Linked DNA regions of Homo sapiens: regions 1, 2, 3, 5 and 6 are each linked to region 4. Evidence: promoter capture Hi-C in 16 types of primary human blood cells and fetal thymus (Javierre and others, 2016). All regions are on one chromosome and are shown on one strand. The core of a region is centred on a gene start or on the middle of the fragment in contact, and the rest is flanking DNA. Distances in the headings are between cores, read along the strand shown.

Region 1 (3,493 bases), core at 817-3,316, 1.2 Mb after region 4:
ACAATCAATTACTCTCTAGCCATCTAATATTTGAGCACCTATGACATGCTAGGTGCTGAGCCAGCTGTTGGGGTGCCAGTGGCTAAGGAGACGTAAGGCACCCACTCTCCTGTGTTTATGTTTAAAACTGTGGAGCTGACGTTTTCTCCATTCTTACCAATGAGACTGACTACTTGTAATATCAGCTATTGGGAGAGGCGGGTTCACAGCTCCTATCATGTTTCTGGATTGGTGTATTTTCCTTTAATACAGTAGTCCCCCCTTCTCTGCAGGGTCTATGTTCCAAGATCCCCGGTGGATATCTGAAACTGTGGATAGTACTGAACAATGTGGATACTGATTTTTTTAAATACATATCTAGGCCGGGTGTGGTGGCTCACACCTGTAATTCCAGCACTTTGGGAGGCCGAGGCAGGCAAATCACCTAAGGTCAGGAGTTTGAAACCAGCCTGGCCAACATGGTGAAACCCCGTTTCTACTAAAAATACAAAAATTAGCTGGGTGTGGTGGTGCGCACCTGTAATCCCAGCTACTGGGGAGGCTGAGGCATGAGAATTGCTTGAACCTGGGAGGTGGAGGTTGCAGTGAGCTGAGATCACACCACTGCACTCCAGCCTGTGTGACAGAATGAAGACTCCATCTCAAAATAGAAAAAAAATACATACCGATCTATGATAAAAGTTTAAATTATAAATTAGGTACAGTAAGAGATTAACAATAATAATGAAATAGAACAATTATAATACTATACTATCATAAACGGTATGTAAATGTGGTCTCTCTCTGTCTCAGAATATCTCAGTGTACTGTACTCATCTATTTTTGGCCATGATCAACCCAAACTTCAGAAAGCAAAACCTTGGATAAGGGGATGACTGTAGTCCAGCTCTGCTTTATTCATATTGAAGATGAGGTTTTGGATTACAATATCCTCCAGTGGGATTCACCCTTTGTTGCTGCGAAATGGCCTTTTAAAGTGTTTAACCTTCTTGCTTTAAATATAGCACTCCTGACATCACCATAGCTATACCAGCTGTCTTCTGCTGTTTCCATAGCATATGCTTTTCCACTATTTTACTTCCTACTTCTCTATGACTTCATTTAACGTTCACCTCATATAAGCAGTATTCAGTTAAGTTTTTAAAAAATAGGCCCATATGGGCTGGGCACAGTGGCTCACACCTGCAATCCCAGCACTTTGGGGGGCCAAGGCAGGCGGATTACCTGAGGTCAGTAGTTCGAGACCAGCCTGGCCAACATGGTGAAACCCCGTCTCTACTAAAAATAAAAAAAAATTACCCAGGCATGGTGGTGGGTGCCTGTAATCCCAGCTACTCAGGAGGCTGAGGCAGGAGAATCACCTGTACCTGGGAGGCGGGGTTTGCAGTGAGCCGAGATTGTGCCATTGCACTTCAGCCTGGGCAAGAAGAGCGAAACCCCATCTCAGAAAAATAAAATTAAAAAAATGCCCGTATGACAGTCTTTGCCTTTGGGTTAGATCCATTATCTTCCTCCACTGTTTGCTTTCTTGCTCAGAAGGCCAATAAGTGATAGGGGTGGTGACTAGAGTAGTTTAGCTGCCCAGCAGCCAAGCCCACCCCCACTTTATCCACCAGATCAACACTCACCATTTATCTCTCTGCGGACTACAACACACATTTTATCACAGTTCATAATGGCAAAGATGTTCGAAGTCACATCCCAAGCGCGTCGTCCAGGGAAACGCTCTATCAAGAGATGAACCACCTCTGCCCAGCTGGCTGTCTCGACCTGGTCCCAGGTGATGGGCATGGTGCCAGTACTGAGCTCAGTCAGTAAGAGCTGCTTGAACCGTTGTAGCTCCTCATGGCTCACGTTTCTCATGTACAGCATGACCCCATTTTCACATGGGGAGCCGGGGTAGCAAGAGAATGTCCAGGGCGGAATATGAGAACTGTGAGTGGAGGAGGATGAAAAGGGAATGGGGGTGTCAGAGGGTGGATTCACGTCACTCATCTTTAGTCAAGGCAGAGAACACCTCAGTGTCCACGATAAAGACAACCGATTGGAAGAGAGAAACACGAGACCTGCAGAGACATAAAACAATAAAACAAGAAGATGAAAACACTACCCAAGAAAACAGATTCGTGTAATGCTTACTTGGCAGGTATTCTGCGTGCCGGGTACTCCCTTTACCTCCTTTCCTCAAAGATTCTCTGCCCTATGGAAAAACTGAAGATGCATGGAATGTTTGGGATTAGTCCATTAGACTAATGGATTGTTTGTAGTTTCTATTCTCCATGACTTCTTTTGGGGAAGAGGCAAGCAAAATATCAAAGCCTTCACAAAAGGTTTAGCGAAAAGAAAAATTAGAAGCAGGTAAAATAATTCAGTGAAGCTAAAATCTAGAAAATATATGGTTGGTTAGAAGGCTCCATTAGATTAAAAGTGATCTCAAATTCAACAAAGTTTTTATTCTTAAAAAAATGGATCATGTATTAGAGAGATGCAAATCAAAACCACAACGAGATGTCATCTCACACCAGTCAGAATGGTGATTATTAAAAAGTCAAGCAATAACAGATGCTGTATTCTTAAAAAATGGATCATGTATTAGAGAGATGCAAATCAAAACCACAACGAGATGTCATCTCACACCAGTCAGAATGGTGATTATTAAAAAGTCAAGCAATAACAGATGCTGGTGAAGTCGCAGAGAAAAAGGAACACTTATACTCTGTGTGTGGGAGTGTAAATTAGTTCAACTACTCTGGATGACAGTGGGGCAACTCCTCAAAGACCTAAAAAGAGAACTACCATTCAACTCAGCAATCCCATTACTGGATATATATCCAAAGGAATATAAATCATTCTATTATAAAGACACATTCCTGTGTATGTTCATTGCAGCACTACTCACAATAGCAAAGTCATGGAATCAACCTAAATGCCCATCAGTGATAGACCGGATAAAAAAATGTGGTACATAAACACCATGGAATACTATGCAGCCATAAAAAAGAATGAGATCATGACCTTTGCAGGAACATAGATGGAGCCAGAGACCATTATTCCTTAGCAAACTAACACAGGAACAGGAAACCAAATACCACATGTGCTCATTTATAAGTGGTAGCTAAACGATGAGAACACATGGACACATAGAGGGAACACCACACACTGGAGTCTGCTAGAGGCTGGAGGGTGGGAGGAGGGAGAAGATCAGGAAAAATAACTAATGGGTACTGGGATTAATACCTGGGTGATGAGATAACCTGTACAACAAACCCACCCCCATAACACGTTTGCCTATATAACAAACCTGCACATGTACCCCTGTATCTAAAAGAAATGTAAAAAAGAAATAAAATAAAAAGGATCATGGGTGTATTTTTGTCCCCCCTGCCCCAACTTCCAATAATAGTTTATTTATTTATTATTTATTTATTTACTTAGAGACAGAGTCTCACTCTGTTTCCCAGGCTGGAGTGCAGTGGTGTGATCTCGGCTCACT
Region 2 (3,594 bases), core at 529-3,028, 1.0 Mb before region 4:
AATGGTATAATCTTGTCTCACTGCAACCTCTGCCTCCTAGGCTCAAGCGATTCTCCTACCTCAGCCTCCCGAGTAGCTGGGATTACATGCATGCGCCACCGCGTCCAGCTAATTTTTGTATTTTTAGTAGAGACATAGTTGCCCAGGCTGGTCTTGAACTCCTGACCTTAGGTGATCCACCTGCCTCAGCCTCCCAAAGTGCTGGGATTACAGGCGTGAGCCACTGTGCCTGGCTTAATTTTTGTATTTTTAGTGGAGGTGGGGTTTCACCATGTTAGTCAGGCTGGTCTCGAACTCCTGAGCTCAGGTGATCCACCCACCTCAGCCTCCCAAACTGCTGGAATTATAGGCGTGAGCCACCGCGCCTGCCCCCAGTTTATGTTTTCACAGCTGCCACTAAGGTACCCTGCCAAGCACGCTGACCACTTTCCAAGCCCTCTTCCCTTGTGACCTACCAAAGCTTTATATTATTGTACTTCATTTTATTTTTACTCACGTGAAATGTGTATATTTTGTGTTCTTAAAGTCGCAGTTTGGAATTGCCTGAATGATAGAATGAGAAAATAAATATTGATGTTTTCAGGACATTTCTTTTTTTTCTTTCTTTTTTTTTTTTTTTTGAGGCAGAGTCTCGCCCTGTTGCCCAGGCTGGAGTGCAGTGGCGCTATCGCGGCTCACTGCAAGCTCTGCCTCCCGGGTTCATGCCATTCTCCTGCCTCAGCCTCCCAAGTAGCTGGGACTACAGGCGCCCGCCACCACGCCTGGCTAATTTTTTGTATTTTTAATAGAGACGGGGTTTCACCGTGTCAGCCAGGATGGTCTCGATCTCCTGACCTTGTGGTCCACCTGCCTCAGCCTCCCAAAGTGCTGGGATTACAGGCGTGACCCACTGCTCCCAGCCAATGTTTTCAGGACATTTCTATTTTCCCTTCACGAAGTGCTCTTTGATTACTTTGCCCATTTTTTTTCTTTTTATGTGCTGTTCTGTAAGAATCCTCTGTAGTTCTTGGGCAGTAATTCTTTGTGCTTTTAAATCTTATTTTCTCTCTGTAAGAATCCTCTATAGCTCTTGGGCAATAATTCTTTGTGCTTTTAAGTCCTATTTTCTCCCTATCTGCCACTTGCATTTTGTCTCTTATTGTGTCTTTTATTGGATGGAAAATTTGAATGCTGATATCAGACTTCTTAATCCTTGTCTGTTTTTTATTTTTTGGTTTTTGTTTTTTGTTTTTAAGACATGGTCTCTTTTGCCCAATCTGGAATGCAGTGGCACAATTACAGCTCACTGCAGCCTCAGCCTTCTGTGTGGGCTCAAGTGATAACTCCCACTTCAGCCTCCCAGAGTGCTGGGATTACAGGCATGACCCCCAATGCTTGGCCATATGGTTTTTTGGTTAAGTTTTGTTGATCAAAGTCTGCCACACTTATGAAGGCATACTACATTATTTAAACTTTGACTTTATGTTGCAGCCTGTATCCTTCTGAAATGTAAATACACGCGCACACACACACACACACACACATATACACATATACATGTATATATATTTAAATTGCCTAGAATGTAGACATATATGTATGTATGTATTCTGAGGCAAGGGTCTATTTTCATTTTACCTTAAAAAATAGAAAGAAGGCTGGGCACAATGGCTCATCCCTGTATTTGCAGCATTTTGGGAGGCTGAGGTGGGATAATTGCTTGAAGTTTTTGAGATTGAGGCTTCAGTGAACCAAGATCACACCACTGCACTTCAGCCTGAATGACAGAGCGAGACCCGATCCCACCAAATGAATGAACGAATGAATGGACAACCAGTTGTCTTAATATTGTGAAGTCTGAATGGACAAGGATGGTGACAGGAAGATTGATATGCATGAAGACACATGCAACCATTTACAGAATGCCCTTCATCCCCTAGCCTTGGAGACTGCTTTGTACATGATCCAGTTTTTTTTTTTTTTTTTTTTTGAGACGGAGTCTTGCTCTGTGGCCCAGGCTGGAGTGCAGTGGCACGATCTTGGCTCACTGCAAGCTCCGCCTCCCGGGTTCGCGCCATTCTCCTGCCTCAGCCTCCCGAGTAGCTGGGACTACAGGCGCCCGCCACCACGCCTGGCTAATTGTTTGTATTTTTTTAGTAGAGACGGGGTTTCACCACGTTAGCCAGGATGGTCTCAATCTCCTGACCTTGTGATCTGCCCACCTCGGCCTCCCAAAGTGCTGGGATTACAGGCGTGACCACCGCGCCTGGCCGACATGATCCAGTTTTTATAACAACCATGCAGGGCAGTCTTTGACAGTTTTTGTTTTGTTTTGTTTTTTGAGATGGAGTCTCACTCTGCCGCGTAGGCTGGAGTGCAGTGGTGTGATCTCAGCTCACTGCAACCTCTGCCTACCAGGTTGAAGTGATTCTCCTGCCTCAGCCTCCAGAGTAGCTGGGACTACAGGCATGTGCCACCACGCCTGGCTGATTTTTTTTGTATTTTTAGTAGAGACGGTGTTTCACCATGTTGGTCAGGCTGGTCTTGAACTCCTGACTTCAAATGATCCACCTGCCTCCACTTCCCAAAGTGCTGGGATTACAGGAGTGAACCACTGTGCCCCGCCAGGTCATTGACAGTTCTAAGACTTAGACCCAGAACTTTTAGGTCACCAAGCCTGTGCTTTGTCCTATCCATGAATGCAGAACTTTGATGACAGAGCTGGGGTGAGAACTGTTCCTTCAGTGCTGTTGTAAGCTCATTGTGAAGTCAGAGCTTTGGAAATGTGTACTGATGGGCAGTGTGTGACAGGGACAAGAATGCAGTGGCTGGGATGGAATTCTAGGGGGAGCAGGGATGCTTGGCCTCTGGTCTCTCACATCTCAAACTAATCCTTTTGGTGATGATTTATCCCGAGGTCCATTCCTCCTGCCTGCTCTCTAGGAAGATGAAAATGCTACATGGCTCTTTTTGAATCTGTTCTTGGTTCCATTCCTTGGCTACGATTTTACCTCTTCCTTGTATAAATTTGAATTTAAAAGAGAAAACAAGTAAAAAAATACACATCTTTACACCTAGCCCATCATCATTGTCTGTTTCTCTTACAGATAAAGCTTCATATACCTAAGTCTGCATTTTTCTTCTTTTTGCAGTTTGGGATATGAGATTGAAAATGACGACTCGGAATTTTCCTGAGAGAGAAGTACCCTGTGATGTAGAAGTGGAAAGATTCACAAGGGAAGTTCCCTGCTTGTCCAGTTTAGGTGATGGTTGGGACTGTGAGAACCAGGAGGGACACTTGAGGCAATCAGCTTTAACTCTGGAGAAACCAGGGACTCAGGAAGCAATTTGTGAATATCCTGGTTTTGGGGAGCATTTGATTGCAAGCTCAGACCTTCCACCGTCTCAGAGAGTTCTGGCAACAAATGGTTTCCATGCACCTGACTCAAATGTTAGTGGTCTGGATTGTGACCCCGCCTTACCCAGCTATCCTAAAAGTTATGCAGATAAGAGAACTGGTGACAGTGATGCCTGTGGAAAAGGCTTCAACCATTCCATGGAAGTTATTCATGGAAGAAATCCAGTGAGAGAGAAGCCCTACAAATACCCTGAAAG
Region 3 (3,234 bases), core at 697-3,196, 1.2 Mb before region 4:
AGAGGCTGGGCTGTCCTGGAGCCACAGCACACAGGACTTGCCCTATAGCAGGTTCACAATAAGCAGGCATTAAGCAAATGGAATGACCAGTAAAGGCTGAGCATGGTTACCCAAGAATGTAGGGAATCATGAGGGGAAGGAGGAGCAAGGGTGGCAGGGATGACAATAGATGCTGCAACAGCTTCCAAGTTCTCTTTTGCACCCCTGGAACACCTGTTCTGGAGAAATCCCTCATGACGGTCTCTGAAATACATGTATGTGAAACTTCCTCAGCCTCCTCAGCCAACCTCAACTCCTATCAGGTTGAGGTTCCCCATCCACAGCTGCTTTACCAACCAAGGAGGGTGGTTCTTTTCATTTCTCACACATGGATTATACCAAGCCTGATAATGGTACCTACCTCAGAGGGTTGCTATGAGATTATGTGAGGTGATTTATTATAAGTGTCCAGCACAGGCCTGGTGCACAGTAAACATGCAGTAGATGTATGGATACCATAGCCCCCTGCTACACGTAAGCAAACACTGGGGGACATATCCATAAGCCCAGCTGAATGACCACTAGTCACTCAGTTTCAGCTGCAGACATGGCAAAGCACAAATCCTCTCTCATATGCTTGGTAAACTGTTTGTGGATCACCCAAGTTTTAGTCTCCCTGATAAAAATCTCAGTCAATCAGATATTAACACATATTATCTCAGGTACAGTCTGTCAGCCACAGCCTTCAAAATACCCAGACACAGGAAATATCTCAATGTCACCTATAATCAGTCAAATAAACACAGGCCTGGCCAGGCATGGTGGCTCATGCCTATAATCCCAGCACTTTGGGAGGCCTAGGCAGGTGGATCACCTGAGGTCAGGAGTTCCGGGCCAGCCTAACCAACATGGTGAAAGCCCGTCTCTACCAAAAATACAAAAATTAGCCAAGTGTGGTGGCCGGTGCCTGTAATCCCAGCTACTCGGGAGGCTGACGCAGGATAATCGCTTGAACCCGGGAGATGGAGGTTGCAGTGAGCCGAGATTGCGCCACTGCACTCCAGCCTGGGCAACAGAGCAAGACTCCGTCTCAAAAATAAACACAGGCCCTCGCAGCATTTCCATCACACAGTATTATTCTGATCACAGTCATTCATAATCTTAGTCACCATCTCAAGGACACACAAAGAAAATCAGTCACACTTGAAATCCCACCGTCACACGCTCACCCTCTCACAGTATCTCACAACCCACGTAGGAAGTCTCAAACGGCAACCATCTCTGTCAGTCACACACTCCATGGTTAGTGTTACACTCAACCTATCAGAATCACACACTCCAACCCGTCAGATACACACACCCAAGAGGTGTCAGACACAGAACCGCCTATCAGACACATAAACGGGTCCGCCCCACACCCTCCCAGGCCACTGGTCCTACATTTTATCTGTTATCTGTCCGCCCGCTCCACACTTCGTCCGCCCCACACCCGGTCAATCAGTCCATCCGACACACACTCCGTCAGTCCGACACATTCTCCGTCGGTCCGTCCGGCACTCAGTGTGTCATTCCGCACCACATTCGGTCCGTGAGTCTGTCCACACCGGGTCCGTCAGTCCGTGCACACACGGTCCGTCCACGCCTGGTCCGTCAGTCCGTCACATCCTCTGCGCGTGTGTCCGGCACTCGCAGTCCGTCTACTCACGTCCCCTAGTCAGCCTCTCACTCTCTACCCGCTGGGCGGTACCCCGCATCTCGCTCTGGCCGCCCCAGAGGTTCGCGGCTTCTGGACCTGCTGTGCCCCTCTCCAGCCTGGATCAGGACGGAGAACACCCCCGAAACCCACCTCACCAGCACAGCCGGCGGACCCTTCCGGAGGTGGCCGCAGAGACTAGCCAACTTGCGCGCCCGCCGACCCGGACCACAGCTCCCAGCACACCTCAAGGGCCCACGCCCGCCAGGACTACAATTCCCGGCGTCCTCCGGAAGCTCAAGTGTACCCAGGCGCGGTGCCTGCTGGGAATTGTAGTTGACGTTGGTCAGCACGGAGGCCACAGGATCCCAGCCCGGCCTTTGTGGGACTGAGGTGGCGCTGAGTGGGAGAGCAGCAGGCGATGCGCGAAAGGCGGGACTTGGAGGTGAGGGAAATGTGAAGGCTGAGGGTGAGAGTGCCTGTGTGAGGCTGAGGGTGCCTGTGTGAGGGTGAGGGTGAGGGCGGCTGTGTGAGGGCTGAGGGCTGAGGGTGCCTGTGTGAGAGCTGAGGGTGCCTGTGTGAGGCTGAGGGTGCCTGTGTGAGGCTGAGGGTGAGGGCGGCTGTGTGAGGGCTGAGGGTGCCTGTGTGAGAGCTGAGGGTGCCTGTGTGAGGCTGAGGGTGAGGGCGGCTGTGTGAGGCTGAGGGTGGCTTTGGGAGGGCTGAGGGTGTTTGTGTGAGGGGTGAGGGGTAAGGGTGAGGCAAGAAAATCGGGTCTGGAGGCAGGGAACCTAAGGACTTCCTAGAAGTAAATCAAATGGAAACTGCAGCTATGGTAGGAAATATCCTCTCCATTTATGCAGGGCGTACATGGAGTAAATCACTTTGTAACTTTACTTCGTCCTCTTCATTTACATAGGGCATATACCAAGTAACCAATGGAAACCTCTAGAGGGTATTTAAACCCCAGAAAATTCTGTAACCGGGCTCTTGAGCCCCTATGCTCCGGCCTGCTCCCATACAGTGGAGTGTACTTTCATTTTCAATACATCTCTGCTTTTGTTGCTTCATTCTTTTCTTTGTGCATTTTGTCCAATTATTTGTTCAAGATGCCAAGAACCTGGACACCCTCCACCAGTAACAAGGGTACCTGGGTGAGAGGTGAGGGTGCCCATGTTAGGAGTGAGGGGAGAGGGTGCCTGTCTGAGGGCTTGTGGGTGTGAGTGTCTGTGTAAGTACTGAAGGTGCCTTTGTGAGAGGTGAGCGGTGTGGTTGCCTATGTCAGGGTGTGTATTGAGTGTAGCTATGTGTGGCTCTCTGTGAACACATGTAATCATTTTTATAAATGTGTATCATTTTTTACTGAATTTGAGCTGGGCGTCTGTCTGCATGAGTCACTCTGTGACCAGGTTTGTGGGTTGTTCTGTGTGCTTACTCTGCGTGTGTGTGACCTGTGATTTAATCATCATATGTGATAATCATGCAGCTGTGTTTGCCTGCACCAGGTGTAATTGTGTCTGAGACAGATACTTAGAGGTAATGGGGTGGACCTGACACAGTATAAA
Region 4 (3,331 bases), core at 821-3,320:
TTCACCCAAATTTACCAATTGTGTATATTTTGCCACATCTGTCTGCTTTCTCTCTCCCTCTTTTGATGTTCTATGTATCTATCTATCTATCTATCTATCTATTTTTTAATAGAGACAAGGTCTTGCTATGTTGCCCAGGTCTCGAACTCCTGACCTCCAGTAATCCACCCGCCTCAGCCTCCCAAAGTGCTGGGATTACAGGCTTGAGCCACCATGCCCAGACATGTTCAAGTCCCTTATATAACAGGATATACTTTTACTCCACTTAATGTTTACCTGTTTTCTTTGTAGTAACCGTGCTTTTTGTTTTATATATATATAATTATATATATATAACATATATGTATATATATAACATATGTAAGTACATATAACATATGTAAGTATATATAACATATGTAAGTATATATAACATATAAGCATATATAACATACATATAAGCATATATAACATATATAAGTATATATAACATACATATAAGTATATATATAACATATATAAGTATACATAGCATATATAAGTATATATAGCATATATAAGTATATATAACATATATAAGTATATATAACATATAAGTATGTATAACATGTATAAGTATATATAACATATATAAGTATATAACATAAGTATATATAACATATAAGTATGTATAACATATATAAGTATATATAACATATATAAGTATATAACATAAGTAGATATAACATATATAAGTATATATAATATATAAGTACATAACATATATAAGTATATAACATATATAAGTATATATAACATATATAAGTATATATATAACATATATATCCTACATTTTCAACACGTGTAACAAATGTGGATAGTTTCAAAAAGATCATTTTACGTTCTAGTAGTTACCCTGTTTGACCAAAGTGTAGTACTTTTATTTTTCTATTGCAGTGCATTTTCTTTTTTTTTTTTGGCGGGAGGTGAGGGAGCGGAGCGGGGATGGAGTCTCACTCTGTCACCGAGGCTGGAGTTTAATGGCGTGATCTCGGCTCACTGCAGCCTCTGCTTCCTGGGTTCAAGTGATTCTCCTGCCTAAGCCTCCTGAGTAGCTGGGATTACAGGAGCCCGCCACCACGCCTGGCTAATTTTTTGTATTTTTAGTAGAGACGGGGTTTCGCTATGTTGCCCAGGCAGTCTCGAACTCCTGATCCGCCCGCCTTGGCCTCCCAAAGTTCTGGAATTACAGGAGTGAGCCACCGTGCCCGGCCTTTTTTCTGTTTTTTTTTTTTTTTTTTTTTTTTTGAGACGGAGTCTCTCGCTCTGTCGCCCAGGCTGGAGTGCAGTGGTGTGATCTCGGCTCACTGCAACCTCCACCTCTGGGGTTCAAGTGATTCTCCTGCCTCAGCCTCCCCAGTAGCTGGGATTACAGGCACCCACCATCATGGCCAGCTAATTTTTGTATTTTTAGTAGAGACAGGGTTTCACCTTGTTGGTCAGGCTGGTCTCAAACTCCTGACCTCAGGTGATCTACCCGCCTCGGCCTCCCAAAGTGCTGGCATGACAGGCGTGAGCCACCGACCCAGCCCTTTTTTCTTTTATATAGTTTTTGAGACAGGGTCTTGCTCTGTTGCCCAGGCTGGAGTGCAGTGGTGCGATCATACCTCACTACACCCTCGATCCCCAAGGCTCAAGTCATCCTCCAACCTCTGCCTCCTGACTATCTGACACTACAGGCGTGGGTAATTTTTAAATTTTTTTGAGACATAGTCTCACTTTGTTGTCCAGGCTGGAGTGCAGTGGCATGATCTCAGCTAGCTAATTTTAAAATTTTTTGTAGAGATGGGTGGGGGGAGGGTCTCACTATGTTGCCCAGGCTGGTCTCCAACTCCTGGGCACAAGCGATCCTCCCGCCTCGGCCTCCCAAAGTGCTGGGATTACAGGCATGAGCCTGGCCAGCATTTTCTGTTTGAATGTTTTTACGTAACCGGAGTCGTCATGATGGAGGTACAGTTCCTTGGACTTCCGGCTCCCATGGCTCTGGAAATCTCAGCTCGGACCCGCCCCTTCCGGCGCCGACTCCCCTGATTCTCCTGGGAACAGAAGAGTTCTGGGCACAGCACGCTGCGTCTGCGCAGTGCCGGGCGCAGGCCTCCCGACCTACGGGTCTAGGTACGGGCTCTAGCGTGGCCGGGGCACATAGAGTTCCTGGCCTAGAGCTGGTGGGGCGTAACGGCAGGAGTTAGGGTTCAGAGAAAACCAGCCCAGGGGCGGGTTCATCCTGTTACCCATTCAGCCTCAAGCGAGGTGGGGTGTGGTAGGTGGGCTGGTGCTAGAAACCACGCCGGGAATTGTTAATAACAGTCATCCCGGCCGGGCGCGGTGGCTCACGCCTGTCATCCCAGCACTTTGGGAGGCCGAGGAGGGCGGATCACCTGAGGTCAGGAGTTTGATATTAGCCTGACCAACGTGGCGAAACCCCGTCTCTACTAAAAATACAAAAATCAGCCGGGCATGGTGGTGGGCGCCTGTAATCCCAGCTACTCGGGAGGCTGAGGCAGGAGAATCGCTTGAACCCGGGAGGCGGAGGTTGCAGTGAGCGGAGATGGCGCCACTACAATCCAGCCTGGGCGACAGAGCGAGACTCCGTCTCAAAACAACAACAAAACCCCCAAAAAAGCGGTCATCCTCCAGGTGGAAGAGACAGAAGAGAGGGTGCGGAAGAGACTTAAAAGTCTTAGGCCTTCAAGCGTGTTTGCCTCAGCCACCCGTGAATCCTACAGGAAAACTAAAACAACTCGGCCACAAGCCCCCAAGTCTTGGGGAAGCGGACGGTTTCCCAGCCGAGCTTTAGGAGGAGGCGCCGCGGGACCTCACGGGTGACGTCGTCCCCGGGGGTAGTTTGCGCAGAGGGTCGCTTTGGGCGCGCTTAGAGTCGCGTGGTGCCTGGGCCAGCGAAGCCCAGGTGCAGTCATTTGTGGCCCTGTCCCGGCGCGCGAGGGGCCAAGGCTGGTCGGGGGCCGGGTCCGCGCGGTAGCAACTGCGTCCTGCCAGCTTCCATCTCTCCCTCTGAGGGCCTGAGCGGCTGCCAGAGTCAGGTCTGCAGGCCGGGCGCTCACGCGTCTGTGCCCAGTGAGGCCCCAAGATGCTGGTGAGGCCTCGACCCTGACTGGTGTCCAGGCTCTTGACACTGTCGTGAGAAGGAATTCATGGATGAGCAGAACAAAGTGTGGAGATTCATTGCGACGGGAATAAGTACGTACTGAAGAAAGAAAAGTGCAGGCATACCACAGAGCATCACGCCCAGCGGGGTTTGGAGCTACCTTTAAATATTTATTTAACCAAGGGGTGGAATATTCATGAAGATTCT
Region 5 (3,208 bases), core at 692-3,191, 1.0 Mb before region 4:
ATGGAATCATATAGTCTATGGTTTTCTGTGTCAACATAATGTGTTAGAGATTCATCCAAGTTGCTGCATGTATCAGTAGTTAATGTTTGGTAAATTGCTGAGTAGTATTCCACTATGGATGTACCACATTTTGTTTATACATTTTATTATTGATGGACTGCTGGGCTGTATCCAGTTTTGGCCCCTTATGACTAATGCTTCTATGAGTGTCCTTTTAGATGTCTTTTGGGGACATGGCTCATACTTCCATTGTAAGAAATTACTATTATGTTCTCTTGGGCAGTTTTTCCAGAAAGAATACAAATTTTGAATGCTAACAGGTCTGAAAATGCTTACTCTCTCCTCATATGTGTGAATGATATATTTGCTGAGCATCAAATCCTGAAATCAGAGTCTTTGTGTTTCTGGAATCTTCACTTATCTTCTAGTGTCCAGGGTTTCAGAAGAGAAACCAATGCTGCTTATACATACCCTGTGCTCTTTGTAAGGGATTTGCAATGAAACTTGTGAAGTTTGCACTAGTTTTGGAGTATGGGTACTTCACCAGACTATGATGTCTTTTTAACCCTGCCAAGACATTGGACATGCCCTTAGAAATGTGAAGATACGTACAACTCATTTTTTTTATTTTTTTGAGATGGAGTTTTGCTCTTGTCACCCAGGCTGGAGTGCAATGGCACAACCTTGGCTCACTGCAACCTCTACCTCCCGGGATCAACTGATTCTCCTGCCTTAGCCTCCCAAGTAGCTGGGATTACAGGCATGTGCCACCACACTCAGCTAATTTTTCTATTTTTACTAGAGACAGGGTTTCACCATGTTGGCCAGGCTTGTCTCAAACTCCTGACCTCAGGTGATCCTCCTGCCTCGGCCTCCCAAAATGCTGGGATTACAGGTGTGAGTCACCGTGCCTGGCCAACATACAACTCTTTATGATGCTTCTATTCAAGTAGATAGAAGAATGCTATTGGCAAAGTATTAGCAAGTTAGTATAAAGCTCTCTGATTTGTTTGGAGTGATAATATTTGGATTATGCAGAAAAAAATTGATAGCATATCCTTCAGCCCTCATCTAGGACTATCATAAAATTATACACATAAGGATCCCCATGATGCTAAAAGGTGTATGATTCCTGCACCATTCTTCAAGGTTGACGGTTCTTTTATTCATACGTGATGTAGAAAAATAGATACGCTGTTGCCATATGATTCCTGCACCATTCTTCAAGGTTGACGGTTCTTTTATTCATACGTGATGTAGAAAAACAGATACGCTGTTGCCACTGATAACATTTATGGGCAACCCGCTTGGGTCCCCTTCCACACTGTGGAAGCTTTGTTCTTTCGCTCTTTGCAATAAATCTTACTGTTGCTCACTCTTTAAAAAAAAAAAAATTTACATGTGATTACCTATGACAACCATTTCTCTTCTTTTCTTTTCTTTTAGACAGGGTCTCGTTTAGTCACCCAGGCTGGAGTGCAGTGGTACCATCTCAGCTCACTGTAGCCTTGACCCCCTCAAGCAGTCCTCACTTCCCAAGTAGCTGGGACTACAGGAATGCACCACCACGCACAGCTAATTTTTGTATTTTTATTAGAGACGGGGTTTCTCCATGTTGCACAGGCTGGTCTTGGACTCCTGAGCTCAAGTGATCCACCTGCCTTGCCCTCCAAAAGTGCTGGGATTACAGGTGTGAGCCTCTGTGCCCAGCCATGATTATCTATGGCAACCATTTTTTTTTTTTTTTTTGAGATGGAGTTTTGCTCTGTTGCCCGGGCTGGAGGGCAGTGGTGTGATCTTGGTTCACTGCAACCTCCACCTCCTGGGTTCAGCTATTCTCCTGCCTCAGCCTCCTGTGTAGCTGGGATTACAGGCATATGGGAGACATTTCTTTTTCTTTTTCTTTTTTTCTTGTTTTTTTTGAGACGGAGTCTTGCTCTGTCACCCAGGCTGGAGTGCAGTGGCACGATCTCGGCTTACAGCAAGCTCTGCCTCCTGGGTTCACACCATTCTCCTGCCTCAGCCTCCTGAGTAGCTGGGACTCCAGGCGCCCACCACCACACCCAGCTAATTTTTTTTTTTTGTATTTTTAGTAGAGACGGGGTTTCACGGTGCTAGCCAGGATGGTCTTGATCTCCTGACCTCGTGATCCACCCGCCTCGGACTCCCAAAGTGCTGGGATTACAGGCGTGAGCCACTGTGCCCAGCCGCATATGGCCAGACATTTCTATGAGACATTGTTCATCAGGCCTAGACCCTGAGTCCCCATTAAATGGTGTTTCTATGGCAAATTAGGGACATATGTAGAATAGAACTGCTTATCCCTGCTGATCTGTGGCTGCAGGGAGTCACAAGTTTGCAGTCTTGTTACATTCAGATACTTAAGAGTTAAAAAATAACTGGTGGCTTTTGCCTCCTTTATCCCTGATGTCAAATAAAATGGAATTCCAACCAATAGCTTTTCCACATTGATCTTTTTTCAATGAGTTTTTCTAATTTGTTTGAATTTCCTGGTGTCAAATAAGGTAAAAGCCATGGTTGAAAGCTTGCCAATACTGACTGCATTCATAGTGTTCTCCAGTATGAGTCCTCTTACGTTCAATAATATGAGAACAACTCCTGAATGCTCTTCCACGCAAATTACATGTATGGGGTTTTCCTCAGTATGAGTCCTCTGATGTCACATCATAAGGGCTAGGCTACGTCTGAAGCCTTTCCCACGATGACTGTATCCATCACTTTGCTCTCCAGTGTGTCTTCTGTGATTTTTGAGTAGTGGAGGAGCAAAGTGTAAAACCTTTCCCTGAATGATTCCCTTCATAAGGTGTCTCTATAGATTCTTAGCTATAGGGTAAAAGTGTTCACTTCTTTAGAAGAATTTCCTAAATTCACTGCAAATATATAATTTCCCACAAGTATAAATTGTCTCATATTGAATAAGGTATAATTTGTGTCTACAGCCTTTGCTACAGCGATTACATTTATAGTATTGTTCTCCTGTATAAGTTCTGAAACATACTGAAAGAAATATTTCTTAATAAAGACTCTCCAACACTCAACACATTTGTAAGGTCTATTTCCTGAGAGAGTTTGCTCATACATCAGTGGGGTTGAGCTCTGTTTAAAGACTTCTTTACACATACTACATTTATATGGTCTCTCTCCAGTATGACTTCTCTGATGTCAGAAAGTATTTACCATAAACAGG
Region 6 (3,309 bases), core at 200-2,699, 1.4 Mb after region 4:
ATTAGTGAGCAATTTTATTTCATTCATATGTGTTAAGATTATATTTAGGCTGGGCGCAGTGGCTCAAGCCTATAATCCCAGCACTTTGGGAGGCTGAGGCAGGTGGATCACCTGAGGTCAGGAGTTCGAGACCAGCCTGGCCAACATGGTGAAACCCCATCTCTACTAAAAATACAAAAAAAAAAAATTAGCCGGGCATGGTGGCAGGTGCCTGTAATCCCAGCTACTTGGGAGGACGAGGCAGGAGAATCATTTGAACCTGGGAGGCAGAGGTTGCAGTGAGCTGAGGTCATACCATTGCATTCTAGTCTGGGCAACAAGAGTGAAACTCTATCTCAAAATACATATCTATATATATTTGGTATTATTTTTGCCACCTGTCTTATTTTGTCTACCATATATTTCTACTTCATTTCCTGTCTTTTGTTGAATTGCAATGATTATCTGAAGGGTTTATAATACTGGGAACGTTCACTGCTCTGTTTCTGTCTGAGTTGTCTGCAGATGCTAACCTATAGTAAATCTAACTTTTTCCTTATATACTGTAATAAGAAGGCATATACCGGCCGGGCACGGTGGCTCATGCCTGTAATCCCAGCACTTTGGGAGGCCGAGGCGGGTGGATCACGAGGTCAGGAGATCGAGACCATCCTGGCGAACACAGTAAAACCCCATCTCTACTAAAAATACAAAAAAATTAGCCGGGTGTGGTGGCAGGCACCTGTAGTCCCAGCTACTCAGGAGGCTGAGGCAGGAGAATGACGTGAACCCGGGAGGCAGAGCTTGCAGTGAGCCGAGATTGCGCTACTGCACTCCAGCCTGGGCATCAGAGCGAGACTCTGTCTCAAAAAAAAAAAAAAAAAAGAAGGCATATACCACTAAACGATAAAAAAAAATTTAAATTTGCTTTTATGTCCTCTTCCTTTATTTTCATCTTCCTGAATGTGATCATCTGTAATTTTAATATCCGTTCATTTTTTCATTATCAAAATTGGATTAGACTATACTAAGGATGGGAAGGTCTACAGAGCAAACAAACTCATAGAATGCTGGTAGGAATGTCAGTAATTATATACACAAGGGAAAACCGTTGAGTGTTATGTAGCAAACATGGTGACCTGTGTTTGCTGTTTGACCTATAATTTATAAATCTAGAGAAATGTGTGCTTATATACACCAAACTACACAAAAACACTTGTTCCTGGAAGCATCATTTATGTCAGACAAAAACAAGACACATAAGTGGCAGTCAACTCTACCATTCACATGCATTTGTTTGGAAAAAGATGAAGCTTCTTCCCTAGATGATGTTTGGTGCAAGCTACGCATGATGATATCAATAATTTTGAGCTGCTTTCAGCTGCTGAAGCTTAACTCTGTAATCATGTCATTCTTCTCCAGGTATCATTTATTCTTTATTTTTGAGGATCTTTCTTTTCCCTCTGGAGACACCTCAGTTCACAATCCTGGGGCGATATGGCAGAATCTTTTTTTTCGGATTTTGGCTTGTTGTGGTATCTGAAGGAGCTCAGAAAGGAAGAGTTTTGGAAATTTAAGGAGCTCCTCAAACAACCTTTGGAGAAATTTGAACTCAAGCCAATCCCCTGGGCTGAGCTGAAGAAGGCCTCCAAAGAAGATGTAGCAAAGCTGCTGGACAAACATTACCCAGGAAAGCAGGCATGGGAGGTAACACTGAACCTGTTTCTACAGATCAATAGGAAAGATCTCTGGACAAAGGCTCAGGAAGAGATGAGAAGTAAGTGCTGGATGATGGGGCGAGGACCCATGGGGGAAGCCTGGGAACAAGGTGATAGCATTGTTAAATGAGTGGCCACCCCCTCCATCAGATGAGAATGTGTGTGGGTCAAGGTGAGAGTTGAAGGTAGGAAGAGTTGCAGGCCAGGGCTGTTCATATGTGGGCCAGCGATGAACTGGGGACAGATGGCGTCCTGATACCAACTGTTCACCTATGGAGTGTCTTCCCATTTTTCCACCCCAAGTGGAGTCGTTGTTATAGGAGATGAGTGGCCAGTTAGTGTCTGCATTGCCAGGTCTACTGAGATGGAATTCTAGTATGGTAGTTGCCTATCTTTTTTTTTTTTTTTTTTTTTTTTTTAGAGAAAGGGTCTTGCCATGTTGCTCAGGCTGGTCTTGAACTCCCAGGCTCAAGTGATCCACCTGCCTAGGCATCCCAAAGTGCTGTGATTACAGGAGTGAGCCACCATGCCTAACTGCCTGTCCTTTTTGACCAGACATGTACCAAGGAGTAGGTAGAATCTTAAGACAATCAGACAGCGTATGTCCCGGGTACTACAGGAAGCATTCTTGCGAGCTTGTTTGGAGGTTCTAGTAGGGGAGCACAGCTTCTCTTCTGCCCGCGATGGAAGGACCTTCCTCTATGGGCAAAGGTTGTCATCGTCTTTGACCCAGGGGAGACTTTCAGGACGGACGCATATGGAGCAGTGAGGGAGGAAGTGGACACCCACCCAGCTGGCCACATCAGCCGAATTAGCCCTGGGGCGACCAATGGGGTGACAGACATCACAGCCAGGTTGTCCTCACGTCCTGGAAGCATTCTTTCTGCATAATGTCTTTTCATTCTTATCACAACCCAGGAAAGGTTTACAAGTGAGAAAACTGGACAAAACAGTGTTCCCATGTGTTACATGACTTTTCCAAAAGTGACAGATCTGACTCCGAACCAGTTCTGCTGGACTCATTGATGGGGTCTACACCCTCCTCTCGGGGGATACTTAGGAAAAACTAAATATATTCCCTATTAGGTATCTAGTAATTAGCATTTGTTTCTGATGATTGTTATCTTCTCCCTTTACTTTTGAGTTCCATCAACTTCTGTTACGTTTACTTCTGTTTTGTTCATGTTTCTTCTTTGTGTTGGTAATTCTAATTTGAGACCTTATTTCGTATCCCCACATGCTTGAGGGTATTTTATTTGGTTTGGAGTTGCTTGCTGTGTTAGTTTTTTGTTTTTTTTTTTGTTTTTGTTTTATTTTTTTGAGACGGAGTCTTGCTCTGTTGCCCAGGTTGGAGGGCAGTGACATGATCTCGGTTCACTGCAACTTCTGCCTCCCAGGTTCAAGCGATTCTCCTTCCTCAGCTTCCCGAGTAGCTGGGATTACAGGCATGCACCACCACGCCCAGCTAATTTTTGTATTTTTAGTAGAGACGGGGTATCACCATGTTGGTCAGGCTGGTCTCAAACTCCTGACCTCAGATGATCCTCCTGCCTGGGCTTCCCAAAGTGCTGTGATTACAGGTGTGTGCCAGTTTTCTTTATCTGTGTGGTTC

Evidence for each region. The method cuts DNA at HindIII sites, captures the fragments that hold promoters and counts their contacts. A CHiCAGO score of 5 or more calls a contact.
Region 1: the fragment with the promoter of NLRP8 here is called in contact with the fragment with the promoter of USP29 in region 4 in 10 of 17 cell types (M0 macrophages, total CD4 T cells, neutrophils and 7 more); the score reaches 19.8 in M0 macrophages.
Region 2: a contact is called between a fragment that was not itself captured here and the fragment with the promoter of USP29 in region 4, in 1 of 17 cell types (total CD4 T cells). The highest score is 5.3, in total CD4 T cells.
Region 3: a contact is called between the fragment with the promoter of ZSCAN22 here and the fragment with the promoter of USP29 in region 4, in 1 of 17 cell types (naive CD8 T cells). The highest score is 6.9, in naive CD8 T cells.
Region 5: a contact is called between a fragment that was not itself captured here and the fragment with the promoter of USP29 in region 4, in 2 of 17 cell types (fetal thymus and total B cells). The highest score is 6.0, in fetal thymus.
Region 6: a contact is called between the fragment with the promoter of NLRP9 here and the fragment with the promoter of USP29 in region 4, in 1 of 17 cell types (M0 macrophages). The highest score is 7.5, in M0 macrophages.

Annotation. Positions count from the first base shown.
Region 1 is chr19:55,946,405-55,949,897 of GRCh38, reverse strand. It overlaps NLRP8 (NLR family pyrin domain containing 8), which reads right to left and starts at 2,066. Exons shown (of 10, transcript NM_001433706.1): 1 at 1,629-2,066. The coding sequence starts at 1,995. The HindIII fragment of the contact is 8,931 bases long and covers 1-3,493 here.
Region 2 is chr19:58,129,049-58,132,642 of GRCh38, reverse strand. It overlaps ZNF329 (zinc finger protein 329), which reads left to right. Exons shown (of 4, transcript NM_024620.4): 4 at 3,132-3,594. The coding sequence starts at 3,140. Among named protein-coding and RNA genes, the nearest start is that of ZNF329, 20 kb to the left of the region's middle. The HindIII fragment of the contact is 2,632 bases long and covers 463-3,094 here.
Region 3 is chr19:58,325,706-58,328,939 of GRCh38, reverse strand. ZSCAN22 (zinc finger and SCAN domain containing 22) reads right to left here and starts at 1,946. Exons shown (of 3, transcript NM_181846.3): 1 at 1,826-1,946. It overlaps LOC105372480 (a long non-coding RNA gene), which reads left to right and starts at 1,692. Exons shown (of 3, transcript NR_144444.1): 1 at 1,692-2,117. RefSeq lists enhancers at 1,646-1,975, 1,319-2,061. The HindIII fragment of the contact is 13,061 bases long and covers 1-3,234 here.
Region 4 is chr19:57,118,724-57,122,054 of GRCh38, reverse strand. It overlaps USP29 (ubiquitin specific peptidase 29), which reads right to left and starts at 2,070. Exons shown (of 4, transcript NM_020903.3): 1 at 1,826-2,070. The HindIII fragment of the contact is 8,956 bases long and covers 1-3,331 here.
Region 5 is chr19:58,166,367-58,169,574 of GRCh38, reverse strand. All of the region lies in intron 1 of LOC124904784 (a long non-coding RNA gene), which reads right to left. Among named protein-coding and RNA genes, the nearest start is that of ZNF274, 15 kb to the left of the region's middle. The HindIII fragment of the contact is 1,212 bases long and covers 1,336-2,547 here.
Region 6 is chr19:55,736,542-55,739,850 of GRCh38, reverse strand. It overlaps NLRP9 (NLR family pyrin domain containing 9), which reads left to right and starts at 1,449. Exons shown (of 9, transcript NM_176820.4): 1 at 1,449-1,756. The coding sequence starts at 1,477. It also overlaps the pseudogene RN7SKP109. The HindIII fragment of the contact is 10,494 bases long and covers 1,372-3,309 here.